Regions from separate parts of the Homo sapiens genome. Here regions 2, 3, 4, 5, 6 and 7 are each linked to region 1. Evidence: promoter capture Hi-C in 16 types of primary human blood cells and fetal thymus (Javierre and others, 2016). All regions are on one chromosome and are shown on one strand. The core of a region is centred on a gene start or on the middle of the fragment in contact, and the rest is flanking DNA. Distances in the headings are between cores, read along the strand shown. Region 1 holds the start of CA1 (carbonic anhydrase 1). Region 2 holds the start of LOC107986954 (a long non-coding RNA gene). Region 3 has its middle 52 kb from the start of PSKH2. Region 4 overlaps ATP6V0D2 (ATPase H+ transporting V0 subunit d2). Region 5 has its middle 5.5 kb from the start of ATP6V0D2. Region 6 holds the start of PSKH2 (protein serine kinase H2). Region 7 has its middle 30 kb from the start of PSKH2.

Region 1 (4,112 bases), core at 1,441-3,940:
CTCTGCCCAACTAGCACATCTAATGCCATGTGCCACCCACCCGCCCTACACTGACCAGTGGTGCCATAAAATACCTGTTTTTTTCCTTTTCTTTTGAAAAAAAAAAAAGATTAGAACAAATAGAAAGATTAGAACAAATGTTGGCATGATAGAAACAAGGAATAAAATAGGCAGAAACATCCCAAGGGAAGATCTACATGCTCTAAATGAGTTTGTGTCTCTTGGAGAGGAATAAAATCCAGAGCACGGAGAAAGTTCAGATAAGATGGATGAACCTCAAAATAACTCGAGGTGCAGTGAAGACTCAGGCAGAACAACTGTATCCTGGCACATGCTATCCCAAATTTCAAAAATAGAATGGTGGATGTAGGTGAGCTATAGATCATGAGCTTGATGCAAATGTAGGTAATATTCTGAGATACAGTATTCAGTAGATAGTGTTAATCACGTAGGGAATGGTCAATAAAATGACAAAAGGATTCTTGATATTGAACTGGATATAAAACATGTAAAAAGCAAGTTGACTCCAATCAGGCAATAAAGAGATTGAATTCAGTCGAGTAGTGAATAATATCCTATAGAGGGAATTTCAACTATCAAATTACACAGTTATAAGTTATAAAAGAAGCTGGGCATGGTGGCTCATGCCTTTAATCCCAGTACTTTGGAAGGTCCAAGCTGGTGGATCGCTTGAGGTTAGGAGTTCAGGACCAGCCTGGCCAACATGGCGAAACCCCATCTCTACTAAAAATACAAAAATTGGCCGGGTGTGGTAGCGCATACTTGTAATCCCAGCTACTCGGGAGGCTGAGACACGAGAATTGCTTGAACCGGGAGGCAGAGGTTGCAGTGAGCAGAGATCATGCCACTACACTCCAGCCTGGGTGACAGAGTGAGATTCTGTCTCAAAAAAACAAAAAAGTTATAAAAGAGGTAACTTTAAAAATTGGGTAAGGGGGCCGGGCACGGTGCCTCACACCTATAATCCCAGCACTTTGGGAGGCCGAGGTAGGCGGATCATCAGAGGTCAAGAGATTGAGACAATCCTGGCCAACATGGTGAAACCCTGTCTCTACTAAAAATACAAAAATTAGACGGGCGTGGTGGCACATGCCTGTAGTCCCAGGTACTCCGGAGACTGAGGCAAGAGAATTGCTTGAACCCAGGAGGCAGAGGTTACAGTGAGCTGAGATCACACCACTGCACTCCAGCCTGGTGACAGAGAAATTGTCTCAAAAATAAATAAATAAATAAATAAATAAATAAATAAATAAATAAATAAATAAAACTAGGTAAGGGTACACATGATATACTAGACTGCATGAAACAGTGTGAATTTGGAAAGCTCTGTTACCTCAAGGAGATGCCCAGCAGATTGACTTTCGGGTCGTGTAGAGGCACCCTGGGCATGTGTGGTACCTAATTAGGTCCCTGACCCTCTCTCAAATTCTTTAACTGACACTTCAACCCTGGCCTTGATTCTCTGATACAGTATCCTCAGCCCAATCAGATCATACATCTATCTATTCTCTTTATTTGCATAAGTGGATTTACAATACTGGGAGAAGAGAGAAATAACTATAAGAATGTTGAAGTTAGTCAAATCCACAATATTAACACATTTGTATTAACTTTAGAAATTTAATTATTTAATCCTTGAGATAACCTATGAAAGATTGTTTGTTAAGTTACTTGAAGCATTTAATATAACCTGATATATTAGAAAATCAGATATATGAACCATATAATTTCAATTTTAAAGTACAAGAGCATTTTCTTCAGTCTATACACAGTGTTTGAATGTTTAAGAGAACATAACTTACTACTGCATAAATTTGGTTTATTACTTTTACTGGAATTGCTTTAATTATTAGAGCCCCCTCCCTCCTTTTATAAACTTGCAAGATGTATAAAAGATACTAATGTGTCAGGCATTTGAAATGCTTGAGAGATTCAGGTAGACTAAATTTGTAATTGATATAATATATAATATTTAAAGGAACTTAATTAACCAAGTCTATCAATTGCATTATTTGTTTAGGGGAATTAACGTCAAATTGAACATTAGTCATGGAATAATTTTAAATGGTAATTTATATTGGCTGGGCACAGTGGCTCACGCCTCTAGTCCCAGCACTTTGGGAGGCTGAGGAGGGCAGATCACCTGAGGTCAGTAGTTCGAGACCAGCCTTGCAAACATGGTGAAATCCCCTCTACTAAAAATACAGTAATTAGCCAGGTGTGGTGGCATGTGCCTGTAATCCCAGCTACTCGGGAGGCTGAGGCAGGAGAATCACTTGAACCTGGGAGGCAGAGGTTGCAGTTAGCAGAGATGGTGCCACTGCACTCCAGCCTAGGCTGCCAAGTGAGACTCTGTCTCAAAAAAAAAAAAGGTAATTTATATTATCCTTTTCAGATTTACAGATTTACAGAGATCTGCTTGATAAATATAAAAGGTTTAGAAAAACTATAAAGGTTTTTTAAGCTTTGCAGCTTTCATTCATTGAATAGTAATTAAGATGTAGGTAGGACTGTATTTTACAAGATTTAAAGATTCTTTTGGCAGTCGGATAAAACACTTCAATGCTCAGCTAGATGAAAGGCAGAAGTCTTTGTTACTTACAGCTCTGAATGAGAGAAGGCTGCCACAGAGGACCACGCAGGGGGTTGCACCTGAGGACTGGGTACCACAGGCTGGAGGGGGAATGGGCAGCTTATGTACAGCAAAAAGGGTGGGGTTAGCTAGGTTGAATAATTTTGAATAATTTGCATAATTTTGGCGGGCTTTGGGGCATGGGCGCTGTCCTTAATTGTCTGATGTCTGGCCCTGTGGTGATTAGAGTGGGTACATAGTGGCCCCAGAGTGTGAGAACCTGATAAGGGAAGTGGTTGGGGTGTGGATTTAATCAGCTGCTCAAGAGAGGAAACTGACCAGCCTCTAGCCAAGGCCTCCATACTAGGTCAAGACAGCACAATAATCAATAAAAATACCATATATGAAATATATTTAGTCACTGATTCCTTTATATCTTGATGTCGATTTTGAACTCAATTATTTGGGGTGTTTGAGTGGCCTGAATAGTAGAGGAGACTTCTACAGAATAGGGCCTAAGTTGCACTAAACAGCATAGAAAACATTTTATTATGACAATAACAAGGAAGAAACCAAGTAGAAATGTGACAAGTCCCTGAAGGCTGACTCGTAACCAGGCTCCCATTTGTTTGGCGTTGGCCAGGAGAATACATCAGTCATGGCAAGGGCCTTTAGTCATATTTTGACTGGATTTCAGAGTGTGTTAAATATGTAAGGCATGTTTTTTTAGGGTGATGGTTTTCTGATCCAGGCTTTCTGTTAGAATGACCTCTTGATTGGTGGTGTTAACCCACCTACAACAAGAAGCTCTAATAATGTTACAAACACCTCTTTGACTAGTTAATATATAATCAAGGACAAATTTACTGTCAAAAAACATTTTTGCCAAAGCTCCCTGGTTTAGCAGGACTAATATTTGCTGTAACTTAGAAATATGATATACTAGAGTTTTGGACATTTGTAGGGTAGCATCAATTATTTTTGACTGTTGGGCTAAAGCAATGGTCCTTGTGGCCATCGCAGCAAGTCCCAGAGCAGTGGTGAGTCCCAGTATTATAGGTACAAATGTGGCACATCAATGACATTTGGCTGGGTAGGGAAAGAATAATTAACATTTATATAAATAGGAATGCCAAGAGAGGCCAGAATGCATCTCGTGGCTTCCAGTTTCAGAGTAATGGAAGGGCAAAGGAGAGGGGATAAACACCCTTGTTGGTTGGGACACAATATAGTTTTGTGGCATTACCATTAGACTGGAAAATTGTACCTTGATTTAGGTAAAGGGAAATTACTAAAGAATGGGACTGGAGGAAGACAGTGGCTTTTGTTGGGCATATGGTGAGAATATGCAGTTGTTCATTGGGTAGCCCATCTGTGGTATGTATTGAGGAAATACGAGTGCAGTTGCCACTTGCCATGAGGGGGCACCCCAATACAGAAGAAAAGGCCGTTTGGAAGTGGTTTTCATTTCTCAGTATTTTTCATCTCTGGGGCAATTATCAGTTGGGTAAATGTGTGA
Region 2 (3,734 bases), core at 224-2,723, 600 kb after region 1:
ATACAGAATAAGGTACATAGAAAACTAAGCAAATAAAAATAAAAGAACAATAAATAGCTCAAGGGTAAGATAAAAATTATGTAAGAATAGAAATATAGTCATAATACATACATGAATTATATTACGTGGTCATAATAATGTCATCCATTAATACTGCCTTAACCCAAAGTTAGAATACAGCTATTAAGGCCAGAGAATGACACAAGAGAGCAAACTCCTCATCTATGTAACAGGAAGTTAACAGATATTGCTGAGTCTCTCAATATCATGTTCCAGGAAAAAGAATGAACATTCGTTGGAGAAATGCCTGATTTCAGGTCTGGAATAAGAAATGCACAGGATGTGCCTGGGACATTTGTTATGCCTGAAAGCAGGGATGCTATCAAAGATTACTGAGAGTGGCCACAGGGGTTCAATCAATATGCTGTCCTCTCCACATTTATTTGTGTGTAAAACTTTTCATTATACAAAATTAAAAAGTAGGTTGGGGAGTAGGATTGGGGAAGTAAAGAGAACTTTTCTAGTCAATGAATTTCAGTACTGTTTGAATCTTTTACAATGAGAATGTAAATTTATTTATTTCTCATGTAATTTTTAATTTAAAATAAAAAAGAAACAATGGTATATGCATGTATAAGGCCAGGTTCTCCAGAGAAGCAGAAGCAACAGTATATGTAGAGATATATAGGAGATTTATTATGAGGGATTGACTTACACAAGCATGGGGCTGAGAAGTCCCACAATCTACTGCCTGCAAGCTGGAGGCCTAGGAAAGCTGGTGATATAGTTCCAGTTTAAGTGAAAGTCCTGAAAACCAGGAGTGCCTATGGTGCAAGTCCCAGTCAGAGTCTGAAGGCCTGAAAACAGGGGGCCAATGGTGTTACTCCTCGCCCAACTCTGAAATTCCAAGAACCAGTGTCTGAGGGCAGAAGATGGATGTCCAACTCAAAGAAAAAAGAGAATAAATCTGCCCTTATTCCATCATTTTTTTCTACTCAGGCCCTCAACAGATTGGATGATACTCACCCAGGCTGGTGAGGGTGGCTCTTCTTTACTCAGTCTACTGATTCAATTGCTCATCTTTTTGGGAAACACCCTCACAGACACACCCAGAAATACTGTTTTATCAGCTATCTGGGCATCCCTTAGCCCAGTCAAGCTGACACATAAAATTAACCATCACAAAGAATATTACTTAGAAATGTGGAGTTAAACACCATTAGAGAAAATTGATGGTTGAAGGTGTTGGCCAGTGGGAAGTAAAATAGGGAATGAAGAGAGGTGATCATCAATTGCTATTTCGTGATTTGTAGGCCTCTTCTTATTGCTTGGCATATGCATATTTTACTTCAACAAAAACAAACATGAGTCACATAGGCCTTCATTCAAAATGTGACTCAAGCATTTGTTAGCTAAGAGGCCTTGAGCAGTGGCTTAATCTCTCACAATTTCTTCATCTGTGAAATAAAGGCAATATATGTCCTTGTGGAGTCATGAGGTTTTAATGTAATACATTAAGCACCTAGTCTGGTGCATAATCAGTATATGGTAGATATTATTATTATATTATATTTAGAACCTTTGCAGAAGCTGAAATTCAAAAGCTAAAAGCTGAGAAAGATGGCCAAAACCTGCCAAACTACAGTGATATGGTTTGTATATTTGTCCCCTCCAAATCTCAGGTTGAAATGTAATCCCTAATGTTGGAGGTGGGGCACGGTGGGAGGTGTTTGGGTCGTGGAGGCAGATCCTTCACGAGTGGTTTGGTGTCCTTCCCATGATCATGAGTTATCACAAGAGCTGGTTGTTTAAAAGAGCCTGGCCCCTCCTCCTCTCTCTCTTGCTTCCTCTTTTGTCATGTGACAGGCCTGCTCCCTCTTCACTGTACACCATGAGTAAAAGCTCCCTGAGGCCTCATCAGAAGCCAGGCAGATATTGGTTCCATGTTTCCTGTACAGTCTGCAGAACAAAAAGTCTCTAGAGGTTTAAAGCAGGGAGACCCCCCAGTTCTCTTCATTTGTAGGGGTGAAGATATACATTTCGCTCAAAGGCTGAGGTATGGAAAGCATCCTAACGTGATCAGTTTTGGCTGCATTTAAAATTGAAAATATTAACCTGGAATTTATTCACAAGCATTTCATTACTGCGACCCAATGACCTGCTAAACACAGGGGCTGTTCCTCTTTTTTCTTTTTTTTTTTTTTTTTGAGATGGAGTCTCGCTCTGTCACCCAGGCTGGAGTACAGCCAGCTCACTACAGCCTCCATCTCCTGGGTTCAAGCAATTCTCCTGCCTCAGCCTCCCGAGTAGCTGGGATTACAGGCACACGCCGCCACGCACAGCTAATTTTCAAATTTTTAGTAGAGACATGACTTCACCATGTTGGCCAGGCTGGTTCCAAGCTCCTGACCTCAAATTATCCGCCCACCTCAGCCTCCCAAAGTGCTGGGATAACAGGTGTGAGCCACCGCACCTGGCCTGTTTCCTCTTTGAACAACTTACCTAGAATCCAGTGCTCCCCAGGTGACTTTTCATATGAGTGCACGAGAAAGGCAGAGTCTGCATTTCCCAAACTCATCTTCAGACATCACCACTTACAATTTCACACTGTCATGCTGCTACTGGAGCTGCTCTGTAGCTTTCACCTGCTCATTAATGTGCACTGCTGTACCAGTAGCTCCTTAAAAATGTACATCACACACACGTGGGGTCTCCCCTAGGTGACCTCATGGGCACCAGTTGCCTGTAAAATAAACATTGACATAATCAAACAGCAAGATACAAAGAAGACTGTGTGTGGCAACATGGTATTGGCTGCAGGTGAAAAATGAAAGATGAGGAGCCAAAATGTTAACAACCTCATCATTCTAAACAACCAGGCTATAGATGCTGTGGCTTTTTTGTCTCCTTCATTTGTTAACTGAGCTAAAATCAAATTTAAAGACACTGGTTTGTATGGAGTAACACTTAATTCAGTCTTACCCCTCCAAAAAACAAACCAGAGTGTCATAAGTGCAGAAAAAAAGAAACACAGGAAAAAAAAATGATGATATTGGTTTGTATTGACTAGGCTTTACTCATAGTACCTTAAAATTAATTATTAAATAATTATATGAAGAGGTGAAGAATTAGCAAACTGGGGCCAATTATGAGGTCAGGAGTTTGAAACCAGCCTGGCCAACATGGCAAAACCCCATCTCTACTAAAAATACAAATTTTAGCCAGGCGCGGTGGTGGGCGCCTGTAATCCCAGCTACTCGGGAGGCTGAGGCAGGAGAATCACTTGAACCTGGGAGGCAGAGATTGCAGCAAGCCAAGATTGCGCCATTGCACTCCAGCCTGGGCGACAGACAGAGACTCCATCTCAAAAAAAAAAAAAAAGAAGCCACATCTGTTTAATGTTTATATTTTCAGCCCTCACATCTACTGTAAACTGTAATTCACAGCTTACAGTTTGGTAGAAGGAATAGACACAAAAGCAAGTAGTATTTACATATAACCAATGCACATCCTCATTTATACTCTAAATCATCTCTAGATTACTTATAATACCCAATAAAATGCCTACGCATCACTTCATTTGTGCAGATTCCACATAGTACTTGGCACATGGCAACTTCAAGTTTTGCTTAAAAAATTTTGTGAATTTTTTTTCCCAAATGTTTGTATTTTCAGCCCTCACATCTACTGCCTGGTACTTAGGAGGTTTTCAGTAGGTATTGGTTTTTAGAGTT
Region 3 (4,331 bases), core at 1,409-3,908, 640 kb after region 1:
GTAACTTCTACCATTACACCTCACCCCAGCCTACATGCTGACCTTTCGTTTCCCACCGCCTAGACTGAGAACCTGGTCCACAGTTAGTGCTAAATAAATACTAGTTGCTTTGTCCTTACCATAACTGTCACCATCGCCATCATCATCATCATGACCACCATCACTGTCATCTGTAGAAGTGCCAATTCCTTGTCTGGATTTCCAGCCCTTTGTTCCCCAGCTGGTTAGCTTCGGTGGGCAATCCTGTCTATTTAGGGGTATGGATTATCAACTTTGTCTGCTCAGAAATACATAACTTACCTGACCACTCCCTATCTTAGCCAATTTCCCTGGTCTTCAACCCCATGCCTTCCTCAATCCCTGGTACATTTATTTTCTTCTTCCACATAATCACAGCTTGTTAGAAGTAGAAATCATCTTAAAGATCATCTTGCTTAACCCCTACATTTTAAAAATGAGAAAAGCAAAATTTAAGTAGGTGTTATAACTAGCGGAGCCCACTTTCCATTCTCCAAGTCCAAGGTGTCTTTCTCTATGACCATGGTTCTCAGCCAGGGATGATTTCGGCACCCAAGCAGTGTCTGAAAACATTTCTGATTGTCAAAACGTGAGGGGCAGAGTATGCTCCTGGCATCTGCTAGTGTTTAGCAGTATCCTTGTCCTCTACTCACATTTAATCCTACTGCTGTAAATGGTGTTATATAGGAGACAAATGACGTTAAGAAATTAACGTAAGTACACTTGGCTAGTAAGTACAAAAGGCATCAATTACAAGGCCATCTGGCTTTAAGACACAATCCACTCTCCACAGTTGTGCCCTTGTCAAAAGAAAAGTAAAAAGGTGCTATATACTTCTGTTTCTGGCCCGGCCTCTTTCTTTCCGTGGTGATAGCACTCACACAAACATGGTGAACATTCCTAAAACCCGTCGGACTTTCTGTAAGAAGTGTGGCAAACACCAACCCCACAAAGTGACAAAATACAAGAAGAGCAAGGATTCTCTGAATGCCCAGGGAAAGCAGCGTTATGACAGAAAGCAGAGTGGCTATGGTGGGCAGACTAAGCTGATTATCCCGAAAAAGGCCAAAACTACAAAGAAGATTGTGCTAAAGTTTGAGTGCTTTGAGCCCAACTGCACGTCTAAGGCTATTAACAGATGCGTTTTGAACTGGGAGTAGATAAGAAGAGAAAGGGCCAAGTGATCCAATTCTAAGTGTCATCTTTTCTTTTATTATGAAGACAATAAAATCTTGAGTTTATGTTCAAAAAAAATGAAAGGTAAAAAAGTAACCCTCAATTATAGTATCATAATATTTTATATATTATAGTACATTATCATTTTTTCATTTTCCCAAATTTGGACCATTTATAGTTCTGAATTTCACAAGCATAAACTTATGTCCCCAGGGAAGAAAATTACTACTGTCCTTACTTGATGAGAAGAGGAATTGGCTTCAATAAGTGTTATAGGGCTCTGGGCCAAGTCTTCAGAGGAGTCTAAAATGATTTACTAGCTCAGCAAAGAAGAGGAGGACATCTTGCCGACAACACTGCAGTTAGAATATGTTACCATAGTTTGTTCTCATTCGAAAAGAAGTACATGAGGAAAAAGAAATATTTCCTGGACCCTGGACTTGTATGTACTTCCCTTTCACAAGTATTTCCTTTGTAAGTTGTTATTCCCCCAGCGGCCCTCTGCCAAAAATGGCAGTCTTTTTGTGTGCCCTTGGACATGAGGCAGGTGGCACCAGGCCCACAGAACCCTGACAAGAGTGTGGAATGACAGGAATGGAAAGAAAACAAAAATGAGAAACAATATCTCCTAAGAAGATCTTTCAGAGTTTATCTTGTCAACCACCTGCAAGAGATGGAGAAGCAGAACAAAGCCCATTGATGTCTATGATTGCATTTTAACAAGAGAGTGTGGCAGACAATTTCATTCCCGATGCTCTGACATGTACTATTTTTCAGACTCAGCGATCAGCACCCATGTTCTCTGCCCGTTTTGTTAATGATTCAAAGTGTACGCTTATTTTTTTTACCATATGTGCTATCTATATACACACACTTAAATCCATAAAATCATAACAGCATTTTGATGTAATCATGCTGTCTCTCAATGGTTTCTAATTGGTAATTTGCCTCTAATTTTTATAGTTACTTGAGTGACATGAATCCTAGAATAGTCAGGAAGCCCATGGTCTTGCCATAATACCGTAATTACCATAAATAATACTTTGATGAATCACAGCTTCTTTATTCCTTCTTCTTTACACAACATTATTTCTAACTTAGTACTGATATCTTTATACTGCTTTTTTGTTTACCAGACTGATTCTCCTAGAAGCTTGTAAATTCCTTGAAGATAGGAATCATGTCCTATTTTTCTTTTTATCCCCAGAGCCTAGGATAGTACACAGCACAGGTTAAGTGCTTAATAAATATGGGTCAGGCTGGGCACAGTGGCCCACGCCTATAATCCCAGGACTTTGGAAGGCCGAGGTGAGTGGATCGTCTGAGCTTAGGAGTTCAAGACCAGCCTGGACAATATGGCAAAACCCCATCTCTACAAAAAATTTAAAAATTAGCTGGGCGTGGTGGCATAGGCCTGTAGTCCCAGTTACTTGCGGGATTGAGGCAGGATGATGGCTTGAGGTTGGGAGGTCAAGGCTGCAGTAAGCCACGTTCACGCCACTGCACTGCAGCCTGCGTGACAAAGGGAGACTCCATCTCTTAAAAAAATCAAATTACATTAAATTTAAAAAATAAAATTAAAAAAATAAAGTTAATATTGGTCAGGTTATCTAATGAATAAATAAATAATTGCTTGAGTGAATAAATGAAATAACAAGTCATGACAACTGGATTTATCAGTAGGTCTTTATCTGCCATAATAAGGACACAGAACCCACATTTTGCCACTATCAGAGGATCAGGGAATGAGGCAAAGGAGAAGTTTCTGGACACCAGAAAGCTTTCTCTGAGAGTGAAAGCTAAACAGCTGCTGGATGCTTCTCAGAACTGTGAATAAAGATATCAGCTTTCTAGGGCTGCATTTACTGTATACATAAGTTAACTTGAGTATTACACTACTGACAAAGTATATACTTGCCATCCTAAACATCAACAGGAACTAGAATAGGCAGTATTGTTAGAGCACATTAAGTTTTGTGTCTTCTGCCTCCCAAAGGTTAAATATCTGTACACTGGTGGCAATGAACTGGATATATACACCACAATCCCTCCAAGCTCCAATATTCTGTCACCACTAGGGTGCTAGGCACCACTAGAGAACTTGGGAGATGCAATTCTAAATTAATCTTCACATTAGCATGTCCATTCTATGCAATTCAGCATCTCTGCACGACAATTGGCAAGTTGCTTATTTTTCTAGTCTCAGTTTTCTGGTCTGAAAAATGGAGACTATAAAGTGAGTTTATAGTACTTGGTGAAGAACCAGACACACGTTAAATAAATGTTAACTGTTGAGTTATGTTTATATAGATGTATTGTTAATGTGTTTCAGGATTTTATGAGATTCCTAAAATCTTGATATGTCTTAATATATGTTGTCAGTAATAATTATGATTATTATGTTAAGTTTTTATATGCCACAAAAATTACCAAATTTCCTTGTCAATTGTGTCTGTCCTGAAACTTTTGCATTCCACAATTGTTTTGCTTTGATTCTTTGCAAAAAGCAGCTTATAATCAGCTACAGTCCAGGGCTTTCTTCTCTGGGAGAGTTCATGAAAAGGACTCTTAAATGCGTGTTTCTCATAACTGGAGATTGTGCCACTGGACTAGAGAAAAATGTCCAGGACTCTAATTAAAAGGTGGATGTGTCAATAACATTTACAAATCCAATATGAAGCAGAGCAGAAGTTGATTGCATGGACTGAACTAATGGAGGACAGAAGTACTTTTTTATGGCTTTTTTCTTTGAAACATTGCTGATTCTTTTGCTTTTCAGAGTCGACAGAACTTTTTTCTTTGAGCTATTTATAGCCTTTAGCAAATAAGTAGAGTATGCAGAATTTGAGACATATTTCTCTCTTTCTGTCTAATTTCTCCAGAATTCATAAACTATTTGTGAATATTCTTAATTCATGACAACGTGGTTGTTTGCATAAGTTCAATAAAAATTTGTTTTCTTTCATAATGGGATACAGTTGGAAGAACTGGTTATTTTCCCAGGGCTTTGACTAAAATGGCCTTGTGAGAGGTTTCAGAAAAGCCAGTTTAGAAGAGCCTATATGGACAGTGATTCTTGTTGCACTTCATGTGGGTAATCAGGCCCAGTATAGTGGGACTGATGATTATTTTGCAGG
Region 4 (4,314 bases), core at 926-3,425, 760 kb after region 1:
CTGTCCCCTTAGATCAGTGATCACCATCCTTTAATCATACACCTATCATTAACACACAAGCCCAAAATAATATAACATATTTAATTATATATTATATGCATTTTTCTAATATATTATGTCAATTTTATATTTATTTATTTATTTTGTGTGGGAGGTGGGGGGAACGAAGTCTCACTCTGTCTCCAGGCTGGAGTTCAGTGGTGCAATCTCGGCTCACTGCAACCTCTGCCTCCTGATTTCAAGCGATTCTCCTGCCTCAGCCTCCCCAGTAGCTGGGCCTACAGGCGCACACCAACACGCTCAGCTAATTTTTGTATTTTTTAGTAGAGACAGGGTTTCACCATGTTGGCCAGGATGGTCTCGATCTCTTGACCTCAAGATCTGCCCGCCTTAGCCTCCCAAAATGCTGGGATTACAGATGTGAGCCACTACATCCAGCCATTTTTATTTATTTATTTTTGAGATGGAGTTTCACTTTGTTGCCCAGGCTGGAGTGCAGTGATGCGATCTCAGCTCACTGCAACTTCTGCCTCCCGGGTTCAAGTGATTCTCTTGCCTCAGCCTCCCGAGTAGCTGGGATTACAGGCACCTGTCACCACGCCCAGCTAATTCTTGTATTTTTAGTACAGATGGGGTTTTACCATGTTGGCCAGGCTGGTCTCGAACTCCTGACCTCCGGTGATTTGCCCACCTCAGCCTCCCAAAGTGCTGGGATTACAGCTGGGAGCCACTGCACCCAGCCTTATGTCCATTTAAAAACATATGCAAAAATTGAAATTTAAAAAAGAAAGAAATTAAAACCTATCTTAGTGAATAATTTTGAACATTCTATAAGACAGCAACCTTTCCACTGTTATACATGTCCCCCTAGGTCTACAGGATGCTTTCCAAGGGTTATGGAGACAGGAGTGATTATAAGATGACCACTTTCCAGATCCTGAGTGCCTATATGTATATATACTAAAACTACCTAAGAGTACTTGAAGTCAGAACACTGTGCTGGGTTCCCCTTATCACCTCCTTATCACAACTGTTCTTTTTCCACCATCCTTTTACACCATACTATGATGTATAGCCCTGAGGTATAAAAAGCTTTAGGGCACTAAACAAACCACAGGACCATTTGAAGTGTTAGTGTGTTGTTTTTTTAATTGATAAATAACATTTTCCATATTTATGGGGTCCATGCAATTTTTTTTTTACAGTTATAGAATGTGTAATGATCAGGTCAGGGTATCTGAGGAGTCTATGACTTTGAGTATTTGTCATTCTGTGTTGGGAACCATCAGTCTATTTTGTAATATGTCATACATTGTTGTTAACTATAGTCACTCTGCTCTTATGTCTAACTATAGAACTTATACCTTTTATCTAACTGTATATTTATACCTCTTAATCTACTTCTCCTCCTCTCCCCCTCCCTACCACCCACCATTCCTAGCCTCTATTATCTGTCATTCTACTCATTACCTTTATGAGATCAACTTTTTTTAGTTCCCACATATGAGTGAGTGCATATGATATTTGGCTTTCTGTGCCTGGTTTATTTTACTTAACATATTGACCTGCAATTCCATCCATGTTGCTGCAAATGACATATTATTCTTTTTATGGCAGAATAGTATTCTATTGTGTATCTGTACCATACTTTCTTTACCCATTCATCTGTTGATGGATGCTTAGGTTAATTCCATATCTTTGTTATCGTGAATAGTGCTGCAATAAACATGTGAGTGCAGGTATCCCTTTGACATACTGATTTATTTTCTTTAGTATAGATACCCAGTAGTGGCATTGCTGGATTGTATGGTGTTTCTGTTTTTAGTTTTTTGAGGTATCTTCCTACTGTTTTCCACAGTACTTGTACCAATTGAAATTTCTACCAATGGTGTATAAGAATCTCCTTTTTTCCACATCCTCTCTCCAGCATATTTTATTGTTTGTCTTTTTAATACTGTCCATTCTAAATGGGGTAAGATGCTATCTTATTGTGGTTGAAGTATTGGCGTCTTGGAGGACACTAATGACTAAAAGATAGAGAGAAGAAGACTGATTGGCTAAGAAACTTGAGACCCAGGGAATGACCTGGTTTTGAGTTTCTCGGATTTTCCTTCGGGTTGCCTCATACACTCCTAACTGGATGCTAGAAAATCTTACAGCCCAGAAAGCCAATGGGCACATACAAAAATGCCCCCAAGGAAAGGCTGTTCTCTCTAGCCAAAGGACCAGGAAAGGGGCAGCTTCACAAACAGAAAGTCTTTTTTTTTTTTTTTTTTTTTTTTTGAGATGGAGTCTCGCTCTGTCACCAGGCTGGAGTGCAGTGGCACCATCTCGGCTCACTGCAACCTCCGCCTCCTGGGTTCAAGTTATTCTCCTGCCTCAGCCTCCCGAGTAGCTAGGACTACAGGCGCCCACCACCACACCCTGCTAATTTTTGTATTTTTAGTAGAGACGAGGTTTCACCATATTGGCCAAGCTGGTCTTGAACTCCTGACCTTGTGATACACCCACCTCAGCCTCCCAAAGTGCTGGGATTACAGGCGTGATTCACCGCGCCTGGCCACAAGCAGAAAATCTTCAGATAATAATGGCTCTACTCTAACCAAGTGCCATGGGAAAAACTGCAACCCCACCCCTGTCAGCAAATGCTCGATGGGGACCCAGATGTCTACCCTTACCCGGCTGTAAGTGGGGTCAGAGAGGGCTGAGCGGGAAGCTGGGCCTTTGACCACCTCCCAGCAGTAATGAGCCCTCTTTTTAGCCTTGGTGTCAATAGAGGCCACACACAGAGTAGTAATAAATCCCAGAAGGAGAGGAGAAAAAAAGAAAGGTTGAAAAAGTATTCAAAGAAATAATGGCTGAAAATTCCCCCCATTTGGCAAAAGACACACACCGACTGATTCAAGAAGCTAAGTGAAACCCCAAACAGGAAAAATCCAATGAAATCCAGGCCAAGACATGTCATAATCAAACTTCTGAAAGAAAAAAAGACAAAACAAATCTTGAAAGCTATGGGAAATGACACCTTACCAATAAGAGAGAAGCAATTTGAACCATAGCAGATTTCTCATTAGGCACCTCATGGAGCCAGAAGCAAGCGGTGTAGTATTTTTCAAGCACTAAAGACAAGAAAAAAAAATAGCATTTTGTATTCAGTGAAAATCCTTCAGGAATGAAGGGGAAATCAAGGCATTCTAAGATGAAGGAAAGCTAGGAGATTTTGTCACCAGCAGACCTACTCTAAAAGAATGGCTAAACGAAGCTTTTGAAACACAAAGGAAATGATAAAAAGAGTAATCTTGAAACAATGGGAAAAAAGAAAGGACAACAGAAAGGAGAAAAATATGGGTAAATACAATATACCCTTTCTCCTCTTGAGTTTTCTTAATTGTATTTCACAGTTGAAGCAAAAATCATTACTCTGTCTGATGTGGTTCTCGATATACATAGAGGAAATATAAGTTATAAACAGGGAAGGAAAAGACACTTAAAAAGAAGTAAAGTTTTTAAAACTGCACTAAAATTAGGACAGCTACTCTGAAAAATAGTCTTGCAGTTTCTTAAAAAACTAAACATATTCTTACTATGCCACTCAGCAACTGCACTTCAGGGCATTTATCCAAGAATAATAAAACTTATTTTAATATAAAAATCAGCACACAGATGTTCTTAGCAGTTGTTATTCATAATAGCCAAAAACTAGAAAAAAACCACAAATGTCCATCAATAGGTGAATGGTTAAATACACTGTGGTATATCAATACCATGGAATACTACTCACCAATAAAAAGGAACAAACTGTTTACATGCAACAGCTTGAATGTATTACATGTATCTCAAGAACACTGAGCAGAGTTAAAATAGCCAGTCTCAAAATGTCACATATTATCTGCTGCCAGTTATATATTATTCAGAAAATGGCAAAATTATAGAGTGGGAGAACTGATTCGCATTTTCTAGACACTGGGGGTGGTGGGTGGGAAAGGGTGGGTGTGACAATGAAGAGGTAATACCCTGGAGAGCTTCTTCACTGAACTGTGTTTTTCTTAGAAGGTGTTTCTCTTTTTCTATCTCATGCCAGAGTGCTTAGTGAATGACAGTCATTTCTCAGCTATTGCTAATGACACTGAAGTACTAAAATTTTTATTCAGAGAAGAGCAATTCCTCTAACTTACCAAATTATGGCTCTATAATATTTGACCTCTTAGCAACTGTTATAGCAGCAGAATGTGGTAGTTATCATACAGAAAATATATTATAGTTTTCTTTGAGATCCTTAAATAAGCTAGGGAGCAGGAGGAGAAAGAATAGCTC
Region 5 (3,805 bases), core at 719-3,218, 720 kb after region 1:
AGAGAGAGAAAGAAAGAAAGAAAGAAAGAAAGAAAGAAAGAAAGAAAGAAAGAAAGGGACAGAGAGAGAGAAAGAGAGAAAGAAAGAAAGAAGGAAGGAAGGAAGGAAGGAAGGAAGGAAGGAAGGAAGGAAGGAAAGAAGGAAGGAAGGAAAGAATGAAAGAAAGAAAGAGAAAGAGAGAGAGAGAAAGGAAGGAAAGAAGGAAAGAAGGAAAGAAAGAGAAAGAGAGAGAGAGAAAGGAAGGAAGGAAGGAAGGAAAGAAGGAAAGAAGGAAGGAAGGAAGGAAAAGGGAGGGAGGGAAGGAAGGAAGGAAGGAAACACAAAAAAATCCTGCCAGAGTTATATCAAAAGAACATGTTAATCATGTTTAAATATGTACCTTAATAATATCTTTATTTGTTAGAAACCCTGGCCTTTATCCTGCCTGTTCTTTTTTTTTTTTTTTTTTTTTGGAGACAAAGTCTTGCTCTGTCGCCCAGGCTGGAGTGCAGTGGTGTGATCTCAGCTCACTGCAAACTCTGCCTCCTGGTTTCAAGCAATTCTCTTGCCTCAGCCTCAGCTGGGACCACAGGCACCCGCCACCACACCCGGCTAATTTTTGTATTTTTAGTAGAGACAGGGTTTCACCATCTAGGCCAGGCTGGTCTTGAACTCCTGACCTCATGATCTATCTGCCTTGGCCTCCCAAAGTGCTGGGATTACAGGCATGAGCCACTGCCCCTGGCCTATCCTGCCTTTTCTATACAAACTATATACTAGGGTAACCAATAGTTGATGTAGTTTCTTTTTTAGAGTATTTCAGCTAATGAATGAAGGAGTAATAAACTAAAAATATAATTATTTTGTTATTCCTAATGAAATAGTGGATCTAGGTGGTGATCATAAATGGCTGCTTTGAAAAAAAAAAGTGAGAGACAAATGTTACATGCATTCTGATGCAAGTATTCAGTACTGTTGTGAGTGTTCTTGCAAAAGAAAAATCTAACATAAGTGTGATCTAGCCTCCAGATCTAACTACCAATTTATAGGAATTACAGGGGACACCACAACATGTTAAATGACGCCACACGATGCAATCAGCAAATTCCAAATGTGCAAAACTCTACAGGGTACATGACCCACCAGTTTCTTAAAAAGAAGGGTTAGAGGAGGGAAGGCATATCTAAAAGAAAATATAAAACACGTAAACCAATTGTAGTGTCTCCTATTCAAATAAACCGACGGCAAAAAAATAAAATAAAAATTATAAAACAATTGGGAAAATTTGAACATTGACTAGATTTTGGGTTTTTGTTGTTGTTTGTTTGTTTGTTTGAAACAGAGTCTTACCCTGTCTCCCAGGCTGGAGTGCAGTGGAGTGATCTCGGCTCACTGTAAACTCCGCCTCCTGGGTTCAAGCTATTCTCCTGCCTCAGCCTTAGCTGGGACAACAGGCACCCACCACCATGCCCGGCTAATTTTTTTATTTTTAGTAAAGATGGGGTTTTGCCATGTTGGCCAGGTTAGTCTCAAACTCCTGACCTCAGGTAATCCACCTGCCTTGGCCTTCCAAAGTGTTGGGATTACAGGCGTGAGCCACCGTGTCCAGCCTAGATTTTGTTGATATTAAGGAATAACTTTAAGTATGCTAATAGAATTGTGATTATATTGCAAAAGGATCTTTATCTTTTAGAGATATTGAAATGTTTATGGATAAAATAATACATCTTGGTTTTACTTGAAAATAATTCAGGGTGGGAAGAAAGCAAGCAAGGTTATATATAGATCAGGGGTTGGCAAATTATACCCTAGTAGTCAAATCTGACCCACGAACTGTTTTTGTAAATAAAGCTTTACTGGAACACAGTCACATTCGTTCATTTATGTGTGATATGCGGCTGCTTCTCCACTACGATAGCAAAGTTGAGTCATTTCAATAGAGTTGAAATGGCCGACAATTCCTAAAATATTTACTATTTGACCTATATAAAAAATACTTTACTGATCCTTTGTATAACTGACACAAGGTTGGCCATGAGTCCATAATTATTGAAGGTAGGTGATGGATACGTGGGGGTTAATTATAGTAGTGTTTCTTTCCTGTATGTTTAAAATTTCCCATCATAAAAAGCTTAAAAGTTTGGTTTGGTTTTGGTTTGTTTGTTTGTTTTGGGATTTTTTTTGGTTTTTGTTTCTGGTTTTTTGAGACAGGTTCTCACTCTGTTGCCCAGGCTGGATTGCAGTGGCGTGATCAAGGCTCACTGAAGCCTCAACCTCTGGGGGCTCAATTGATTCTTCCACCTCAGCCTCCCAAGTAGCTGAGACTACAGGCACGTGCCCACCAAGCCAGGTCAATTTTTGTTTGTTTGTATTTTTTGTAAGGACGTGATTTTTTCATGTTGCCCAGGCTGGTCTTGGACTCCTAGGCTCAAGTGATCCACCTGCCTCCGCCTCGCAAAGTGCTGGGATCACAGGCATGAGCCACTGTACCCAACCTAAAAAGTTTAAAAGTTTTGTTTTGTTTTTTTAAAGTGCTGATAGTCCTAGGAGAGAGCTTTGACCTGGCCTTTGATTGGCTATTAACGATGGCATCATAGTTCTGCTCTGAGGGGCAATGTGTACCACACACTGCCTCTAAAGATGCTTTCAGGGGCTGAGGGTGAATATGACTGTCCACCCTGACAATTATTTTAGAGTTGGCAAAGCCTTGGCTGCCTTAGCTGCATCGAAGACATCAGAGGACTGTGTGCTGTGTGGGAAGCAGCCTTCTTCTCCTTTGCTTTTGCATTGCGCTTTGAAGAACCTACCACATCTAGAAAGAAACTTTTTATGCTCAAAATAACAGACACTTTACCTCTTCAAGGAATATCTCCTTTCCTTGCAGAATAAATTGATCCTCTAATGCTATGAAGATAATGACTCTTGGGAGCCCCTGAAGTTGACAAAAAGTCACAATAATTCCTATACATCCTATACAGGTATACACGCATCCACAATTATATATGTATGTGTGTTAGGCTACAAAACCACAAAATAACCTCACTCTTCAGATACACTTGCCAAGTATAGTGTTTCCTAGAGAAACAGGGAATTAAAGATTCTGTAAAAGTAATTTTAAGTCATTTTAAAACTCTGACTCTAGTTAATTCACGAAATGAGTATTGAATTATCTGCCCCCACAAGGCATGCTACTAAGCACTGAAGAGATGGAAAAATGAGCCAGGACTGTTGGTGTGCATCTGTAGTATCAGCTGCTCAGGAGCCTGAGGTGGGAAGATGGCTTGAACCCAAGAGTTCAAGACTGCAGTGAGCCGTGATCACACCACTGCACTCCAGCCTGGGTGACAGTGAGTCCCTGTCTCTTTAAAAAAAAAAGAAAAGAAAAATGAAAAATGAATAAGGCACTGTTCCTGGATTTAAGAAATTCAATCTAAAAGTGATTACAGGCCAGGCTCAGTGACTCACGCCTGTAATCCCAGCACTTTGGGAAGCCGGGGTGGGCAGATCACTTGAGGCCAGGAGTTTGAGACTAGCCTGGCCAACATGGTGAAACCCCGTCTCTACTAAAAATACAAAAATTAGCTGGGCATGGTGGCACGTGCCTATAATCCCAGCTACTCAGGAGGCTGAGGCAGGAGAACCGCTTGAACCCGGGAGTGAGAGGTTGCAGTGAGCTGAGATCGCGCCACTGCACTCCAGCCTAGGGGACAGAGTGAGACTCCTTCTTAAATAAATAAATAAATAAATAAATAAATAAATAAATAAATGTGATTACAGTGGTTTTTGTACAATAGTCCCTCCTAATCCACCCCAACGGATGCCAAAC
Region 6 (3,777 bases), core at 787-3,286, 690 kb after region 1:
CACATATTCAATACCAAAGATTCAAATGCAAATACTAAACTATGCTTTAAATAGTCTTACTTCTTTTATTGAGCTTATTTTTCCTGTAACTTTTTTTTTTGCCTTCTTGTTTGTTCTTTATATTCCTGTGTGTATTGAATAAAAATGACATTTGGCTGTACCAGATTACAGAAAACAGCTTTGTTCTCCACAGAGCATTTAATTTTCTGGCCAATTACCTTATCAAAACAGATAGCAATTTAGTAATCTTAAATAGATTCTTTCCCCTTTTCCCTTTCCAACTCTGCTTTTCTATTCACATGCATTCTCAGTGTGATTTTGAAGATAATCACAGGCATTTCAAATTCTATTGCTTTGCAGACCAACCAAGTTTTATATTACCTCTATTGTGGATGAAAGCACTTTGTAAATGCTAATTTATCGCTATGCCCTCAAAGCTGCCATCAAACTCATTTGTTCACAGAATTAATCATATCAAACAAACTACCATTTCTGAGAACTACACGCTTTTGCTCAAATAAAAGAAGCTTTATTCAATACTGTTAAGGGGGCTTCATATTTCCAATATTTGAAAAAATGCTAGTAATTTGGCATTGGAGGAAACAGTACACTTGAAGCCAAGATTTAGAGTGGTGGAAATAAATGCCTCAGATTGTTATTCAATTTGTCCCATAACAAATTCTTATAGCTACAGCCTTGCTCGTGAGTCCTCAACTGCCATGAATGGTGACCAACTTTATGATTTGCGTGGCTATACCTTGTAAAGTGCCTAGCACAGAGGAGTAGCAATAAACACTGAACAAAAGAATCATTCACTGAATACATATTATTCCTGAATCATCATATATATTTTGCAAACATTAAGTAAAGATCACATCAAGCTGGGAAGAATGCCTTTATAAGGTCTTTTCATTTCCTTCACTTTTACCCCTCCACTCTCTTAAAGAGTAGCCTCAGAGTCAGTTTAGTAGGTTGGACAATTTTGTATCATCCCAGAGACTACGTAAATTGGAAATATTACTTTAACCTCAGCTGCTATGATACAAACTGGGAATTTTTGAACATAGATTAAAGATTTGAAACAAGGAAATAATAATAGTGTTACAATCTGCTTGAGAGAAACAATTATAATAAACTCCCAACAAGAAAGTAAATATACTCATATCTAAATTCTATCATCTCTTTTCTGCAAAAGTTATAGATGGAATCACAACGGAGAAGGAAGACGACTGTGTTCTAGTCCCAATTCTACCACTAACTTGGACAAGTCACTTAACCTTTGGGGACACAACTACTCATTGGTTAAAGATGAGCCTTGAGTTAAAATCTCTGAAGCCCTTATAATGTTGAGATCCTCTACTTCTGTGATGCCTTTACACTCTATGGGGCTGGGTCTACCCCTGGATTGGGAATTAGTAGGGTGGATGAAAACTAGACCAGACTAGCATCATCTCTCTGACTACAAATGACCAGAGATGCCATTTAACCAATTCAGTCTTGACAAGACCCTGTACCTACTCAGATTCAGTTCAGTCATATTAGCCAGCCTTGTTCTTCTGTAAGCTTAGCAGCCACCGAACTAATCCTCCAGGAGTCACTGTACTAAAAGTTCTCAAGGAGGCCAGGAAATGGCTCTGCATAGATTCTGGACAGAGCACTGTGACGAAGTGAGCATGCAATTCTAGGACCAGCAGTGCCTTGGGAAGCCAGCTGAGCCACCCATTATTGTGTCTCCCCAAACACACAGAGGAGAAGGGGATTCCGTGATTTACTTGGTCAAAATGTCCAACATGTCCAACATGGTACACTCAGGAGGCCAACCAACCTGAAATCTTCTACATAGGAAGGGCTTATTTGTACTTCATGAAAACAATAATCAGCATTGCACTAATGTCTGCATGAGGACTGGTACCATGCACTGTGCAGCATAATTTACATGTATTACTTTAATTATGCTCACAACAGTCTTATGAGATAGATACTCCCATTTTACAGAGCTAGAAACGAAGGAAGGAAAAAAGCTAAGGAATGTTCTACATGGTACATGATAGAAGATATGGAACTGGACCTCAAGTCTGGCTGACTCAAAGGCGCATCTCTAGTTCACTCGCTGTAATCCCAATTTTTAGAATTAGTGGAAGATCCTTCACACACCAGGTCTGGCAGGACCCAGCCCCAGGATATTAGAGGCAAAGCCGTCTTCCACCGCAGATGCTGGAGGTTGGCAGACAGTCCTCTCACACCCCCACCCCCCACCTCCGAAGATAGGAATTCCTTCCCTTGTTTGCTGCTGCTCCTGCTCTCTTTTTTCCCATCCTCTGAACTCCCTGTTCAGAGATGTCAAAGAGAAATTGTACTGGGCACTTATGGAACACAGCAAGGAAGGCTTATCCCAGACTATTGCAATAGGAGTCGAGGCTTCTGCAACAGGGGAAAGAAAATGGACGCCTTCGAAACAAAAGGCAAGAAAGTTTTTAAGCGCTGGGGTGAGCCAGTGGAAAAGAATGGGAGAAGCTTAGGGAGAGGTGGTCAATGAGATCTGTGTTTGCTACCTGGCCCTTATGGAAGTTAGGCTCCTGCCCTCCCACAGAGACTGGGAGACAGTGGCCCTAACTCTCTTGATGACTACATTTCAAAGGGATGGCTGCCAGGTGCCTGAAAAAGACACTCTTGGGTTGTAGAAGATTTACATCTCAAAAGGGCAGAGAAAGGGGGAGATCAGTGCCTATCATCCGAAAGAACCCTGTCCAAAATTGAGTCAAGCTGAAGGGAACCTCGAGGCGGTCTTGGCCAGGGGTTTTTCTTTGTCAGCCCAGTCCCAGGCCAGTTCCTCACGTGGCGCTTTACCTGGCAAGGACCCGGGGGTCGAACTTGGCTCGGAAGCGAGCCACCTGTATCCTCTGCGCCGCCTGGGCCGCCGCCTCGGGCCCAGGCCCCGCGCCTCCGACGCCGGCTTGGTTTTGACCTTCGTGCTTGGCCCAAGCCAGCGCTGGTGGCCCCGGGACCACCTTCCTGCTGGCGCCGCACCCCATACCCGCAACACGCCCGCCGCTCGCGGGACCTGGGGACTCGGGAAGCAGCCAGCCCCGTTCCTCCGCCCTTTATCAAAGAGCAGCTGCGAGGGGCGGGACCCTCGGAAAGAAACCCCACTGGGGGGTCGTGGTCAGGGAGACAGCCCCCAGGATACCCGCTAACGACCGAGACGCCTGGATCATCGCTGGTCACCGTCTGTGTGTGTAATCTGACGTGATGAAAGCAAAGTCAACCAACAGGCAGAACCTGCGCCTAATTGTCTGGGCTTCACTTTCTGCATCTCTAACCTGACAAAGTGAACATATAAAATTATACGATTGTATAAAGGATATCGTCCCTCTAAAGAACTTTTCGCTGAGCTCATATTCGGATGACATGAACATTAAACATACATATATATATATATTTAAAATTCTAAGAGCTTATAATATTTAAAGTATAACTTCACTGCCTTCTATTGCATTAAACGGATGACAAAGGCCTGTGTCTGGCACTCATGACCTTCATCTTCCGGGTAATCCATCTAAGAGAGAAAAACTGAGGGCCACGATAGATGTCTAGAACCCAGACGAACACCCTAAGCAAATACAGTGAGAAAACCTGTATATACATATACAGTGTATATACAAAACCCGTATATACAAATATAGTGAGAAAACCTGTATATAGATATAAATATATATAAATAAATATAAATATTATGTATGGTAACTTTACATTTTCTATATATTTCATTCTTGTATT
Region 7 (4,078 bases), core at 612-3,111, 660 kb after region 1:
GGCAACATGGTGAAACCCCAACTCTACAAAAATAAAATAAAATAAAATAAAATAAAATAAAATAAAAAGTAGCTGGGCGTGGTGGCACACGCCTCTACTCCCAGCTTCTAGGGAGGCTGAGGTGGGAGAATCACATGAGCCTGCGGAATCGAGGCTTCAGTGAGCCATGGGCGAATCACTGTGCTCCAACCTGGGCAACAGAGCAAGACCCTGTCTCAATATACATAACTACAGCATTCTTAAGGATTGAAGGTGATCTTAGCAGAACAAAACTTTGTGAAAGAAAGTTTTAAAATAGCAGTGCTTTGTATACAGAGAAGGCTGAAAAAAAATGGATGTGCATTGACTAACAATGTGATGCTCCGACCACAGAACTACTTAAAGACTATTAGGAAGACTGGGCTTCCATCCTGGCCTCTGACTATCTTTACAACTTCTACAAGTATATCCCTTCCTTCTGCAACTAGAGGTGGGCTTTCCTATCTTTAAAAAGGTAATCTGTTTCTTTCCCTAAGATGTAAACTATTAACTTATCAGACACTGCAAAAAAAAAGATTCCATTTTCCCGTTTTTCTCTTCTGATAAATTATAGGCTGGGATATAAACAACAATTATATTCTTAATCTTCTTGTGAAAAAAATCTGCTAGGAATAACAAAGATATTCTGTGGCTTTTGTTGGCCTTTCCTTTGCTTTTGACTCTGTGGACAAAATTCAGTTGAGGTTGCATTCCTGAGTCCAAAGCAAACATCAGGATATTCAATAATATCAATAACTTTAATCCTTCTGAGTGTGCAGATTATTAGAAATGTCATTTGATAGCTTTGATTAATGGTCTCCAAACTTTCTTATTTAGTCTTTATCAGTAAATATATTTACTTATTTTTGTTTACTATTAAATTATCTACATATGCCATTATATGAACATACACTTCAGGAAAATTGTGCAAAACTAGAAATTTCAAAAAGACAAGCTAAAAATAAAACAATTCTTTAAAAGTAATTTTAACTTGTCTTTATTAATGGTAAAATATAATTATTTATTAACATAGGATTTATTTTACTTTCATAAAAATTATATTTAATAAGACAAATATGATGAATTATGCTTCATTATTGCTGAAAAGCTTGTTTACTACTTTGCAATGTAGTGGTTAGATGTCTGTTTCTCAACGAGATTTACTTCTTTCCTTGTTTTGAAAAGCTATCAGAATTTTTTTTAAAAAGTCTGCATTTTCAAAATTACAACACCCATGTTTCAATCCATCTACCAATTTTGTAAAGGCTTTTGATAAAATTGTGCTCAGAGATTTTTTTCTTCCCTGAAGTCTGCATAGGTATGAATGTTAAGAGCCCAGGCCTGGACTGATTTCGCTTCTTTTCTCTTATTTTGTATCCAGCAGCCACAGGCTATTCTTCACAAAGAGGTCCTATTTTCAGAATCACCCATACTGCAATATAGAAAACAGTTGTTTCAGTAATTCTTATCTTTCATGTACTATAGTTCCACTGGGGCAATGCACTTCTTTCCACTAAGAAGCCTACTTTCTGTGCTGGCTTTTGTACACAGAGCACTTTGAAGTTGGCATTTGTGCACAGCCACATTTCCAAACTGCCTCCTTCTTCCCTGGTTTTCCTGCCAGAGAAAAATAAGCCTGGTCCCCTCAGCTGTTAGTGTCTCCCGCTTTGTCTGCGAGTGCCAATGGAGACTGGCCATCTCTTGGAAATATGCCAGTCCCAGTCCCGGGTCCTCTGCCTTGGTTGGTGCCTGGATTAGTGAAACCCTCAAACCTAAGCTGTGATTCACAAATAACTCTGGGGTGGCTTCTCCACTCTGGAGGGGGGCTTTATTTCAGATGAACTCTGGCAGAGGAAGAAGAGTCCCTGGGTTGCTTTAAGGACATTGGAGTGTGTGCTAAGAAGTGGTCACGTTCTCGATTCCTTTCCCTTTTGCTTTCTTTTTCCCTTCTAAGCACAAGTCTGTCCTAAAGGCCATGAAAAGCTCTCTCCCGCATGATCCACCCCCTGCTCACTATTCTGCTTGTCTCTAACTCACACCTGTGGGTAGGGGAAAATGGCAGTGACTGTGGCCAGGAATGTCCTTAGCGCTGAAGCAATGCTAATGCAAGGCGCCCAGCGCTGAGCTTCGCTAATCGCTTCAAAACTGAAGCCAGCTCTGGCACAGAGTGAAACAGCATGCTTCTGAAGTTGCTCTAAACTGTGGCCAGAGCCGCCACACCAAGTTGGTACCAGGAGACCTGCCTGGGGCATGAATCTAACTTTAGACATTTTGTGAGAACAAGGAGATCTCCGCCTCTAGATCCAAAAGAGAACTACCCAGCTGAACCCAGTCGGTTAATCCCCTGGACGGCTCCGTAAACACGCAGCAGCCTCTGCATCCTCCTGCTACAGACTCACTGCCCCACTTTTTAAATGCCGGAGGTGTTGATGTTGAAGGGGGCTAGGAGGTGTGGGTGATCAAGGACTCAATATAAAAGTCCAAGATTTTCCTACTCTCCCCAAACCTTTGCAGCATCATGGGAAGCAAATGTAATTGGCTTCTCTCTGGCTTTGCTGTGGCATAAAGTATCCAAGGAAAAGCTTCTTGCTCTTACTTTTCTGCTCTTCTGCTGAGACAAGCATTTGCCTTCACCAGTGGGAGGAGATTCCATCTGTGCCTAGATGATTTATTATCAAGAAAATGTGTTAATAATTGATAAGGAATCCTATAAAAATAAAATCATAAGTAGCCAAAATATAGATGAAGAGGCTCTCTTATCACAAACTAGGTATGCTTTCAATAGATAAATGACCCTCCTATAGGATATCTGCTGGGAAGAAGAACTAGAGATCTATTTTTAAATCCAAGTCATCATTTTCATCAGAGGTTCCCCAACTTTTAACTAGCATAAAGATATTAATTCTACATAACACACTAATTCATTCAATTTCCCTAGAAACAGTTCTTTATGCCAGTTTATTTTAGAAGAAGGTACACCAAGAGGGGACACTAACAATAAAAATCATGTGACACTTTATGAAATTTATTTTATGTATCAGAAGTAAGTATTTTGCCACAGTCACTTTAAGGTTTTTCAAATATTAAAATAATCCATGCCATTTACTGTGGAGTTTTGGTGGCCTTTGTTGCCCCTTCTTTTGGGCACTGCAGCAGGCTCCAATTTCTGAAGAAAATCCTGGTGGCATCCAAGGATATGCCCTCATCCCACCTCCATGTGGAGGGGAGGCAGCTTCTGTCCAGCGTGTGTGTGGCACAGGTTGTCAGCCCAGCCCACTGGCTGCCAGCTCACCCACATGGCTGTGCCCTGAGCTGGCACTGCAGGCAGCCACCTTGCAGGTAATGTCACGTGTAGGACCTGGAATCACTGCTGTGCAGTGCAAACCAAAATCAGGGTGAGAAACAATATTTCTGGAATATTATTTGAAAAGCAAGTAAGCTATTCCTTCATTTGAATCTTCTAAAAATCCCTCTCTCCAGTAATCCAGACAAACATGGAGCTCCATCCCTGGACCATGTTCTTTTGAGCTCCCTGGACTTGTTTTCATCAAATTACCCACTGGCCGACATTGAGGGACATTATGAACAAGAACCTGTGGAAACTGCTCACTGTGTTTACTACGAGGATGTTGCTGATTGCATTGCACTTGTTAATTACATTGTACATCCTCCCTGGGAGATCCCACAAGAAATTCTTTTCAGTCTGGGTCAGGAATGAATGTGCTTCCCTCAAGCAACTAATTAAAATTATTTGTTGTAATTTTATGACCACATTGAAGCATGTATCTGCTTTCTTCTTTGAAGGGATTACCAGAAAACGAAGTCAAATATAAAGTCGCCTTCTGTAATTTATGGGTTTAAATGTTTTATATTTTTGTTTCTAATTTTTATGTGAGAATATTATCTTAGTTTTTCCTATCCCTCCTACTTTCAGGGGTTTTTTTTCCTGCATTCCTTTTCCACTCAATTCAAGTGGCCTTTTATCTCATTTTTATCTATTTACGTAAGATACCTTAAAACCTTTAAAACAGGAAAATGAATAAATAAACAGACAGTAATA

Evidence for each region. Contacts are between HindIII fragments. The CHiCAGO score rates a contact against its expected background, and 5 or more counts as called.
Region 2: a contact is called between a fragment that was not itself captured here and the fragment with the promoter of CA1 in region 1, in 5 of 17 cell types (naive B cells, M0 macrophages, erythroblasts and 2 more). The highest score is 7.6, in naive B cells.
Region 3: a contact is called between a fragment that was not itself captured here and the fragment with the promoter of CA1 in region 1, in 7 of 17 cell types (erythroblasts, M2 macrophages, endothelial precursors and 4 more). The highest score is 7.5, in erythroblasts.
Region 4: a fragment that was not itself captured here is called in contact with the fragment with the promoter of CA1 in region 1 in 1 of 17 cell types (naive B cells); the score reaches 6.1 in naive B cells.
Region 5: a contact is called between a fragment that was not itself captured here and the fragment with the promoter of CA1 in region 1, in 5 of 17 cell types (megakaryocytes, fetal thymus, total B cells and 2 more). The highest score is 6.6, in megakaryocytes.
Region 6: a fragment that was not itself captured here is called in contact with the fragment with the promoter of CA1 in region 1 in 5 of 17 cell types (endothelial precursors, total B cells, naive CD8 T cells and 2 more); the score reaches 7.2 in endothelial precursors.
Region 7: a fragment that was not itself captured here is called in contact with the fragment with the promoter of CA1 in region 1 in 9 of 17 cell types (erythroblasts, megakaryocytes, naive CD8 T cells and 6 more); the score reaches 11.4 in erythroblasts.

What each region holds. Positions count from the first base shown.
Region 1 is chr8:85,375,423-85,379,534 of GRCh38, forward strand. CA1 (carbonic anhydrase 1) reads right to left here and starts at 2,691. Exons shown (of 8, transcript NM_001128831.4): 1 at 2,624-2,691. RefSeq lists a promoter at 2,719-3,510. The HindIII fragment of the contact is 5,896 bases long and covers 2,484-4,112 here.
Region 2 is chr8:85,978,429-85,982,162 of GRCh38, forward strand. LOC107986954 (a long non-coding RNA gene) reads right to left here and starts at 178. Exons shown (of 4, transcript XR_001745984.1): 1 at 112-178. The HindIII fragment of the contact is 5,360 bases long and covers 1-3,734 here.
Region 3 is chr8:86,015,914-86,020,244 of GRCh38, forward strand. It overlaps the pseudogene RPL36AP31. Among named protein-coding and RNA genes, the nearest start is that of PSKH2, 52 kb to the right of the region's middle. The HindIII fragment of the contact is 627 bases long and covers 2,346-2,972 here.
Region 4 is chr8:86,131,059-86,135,372 of GRCh38, forward strand. All of the region lies in intron 2 of ATP6V0D2 (ATPase H+ transporting V0 subunit d2), which reads left to right. Among named protein-coding and RNA genes, the nearest start is that of ATP6V0D2, 34 kb to the left of the region's middle. RefSeq lists an enhancer at 3,026-3,578. The HindIII fragment of the contact is 2,170 bases long and covers 1,091-3,260 here.
Region 5 is chr8:86,091,466-86,095,270 of GRCh38, forward strand. No RefSeq gene overlaps it. Among named protein-coding and RNA genes, the nearest start is that of ATP6V0D2, 5.5 kb to the right of the region's middle. The HindIII fragment of the contact is 280 bases long and covers 1,829-2,108 here.
Region 6 is chr8:86,066,591-86,070,367 of GRCh38, forward strand. PSKH2 (protein serine kinase H2) reads right to left here and starts at 3,078. Exons shown (of 3, transcript NM_033126.3): 1 at 2,848-3,078. The coding sequence starts at 3,032. The HindIII fragment of the contact is 951 bases long and covers 1,562-2,512 here.
Region 7 is chr8:86,037,608-86,041,685 of GRCh38, forward strand. No RefSeq gene overlaps it. Among named protein-coding and RNA genes, the nearest start is that of PSKH2, 30 kb to the right of the region's middle. The HindIII fragment of the contact is 1,474 bases long and covers 1,125-2,598 here.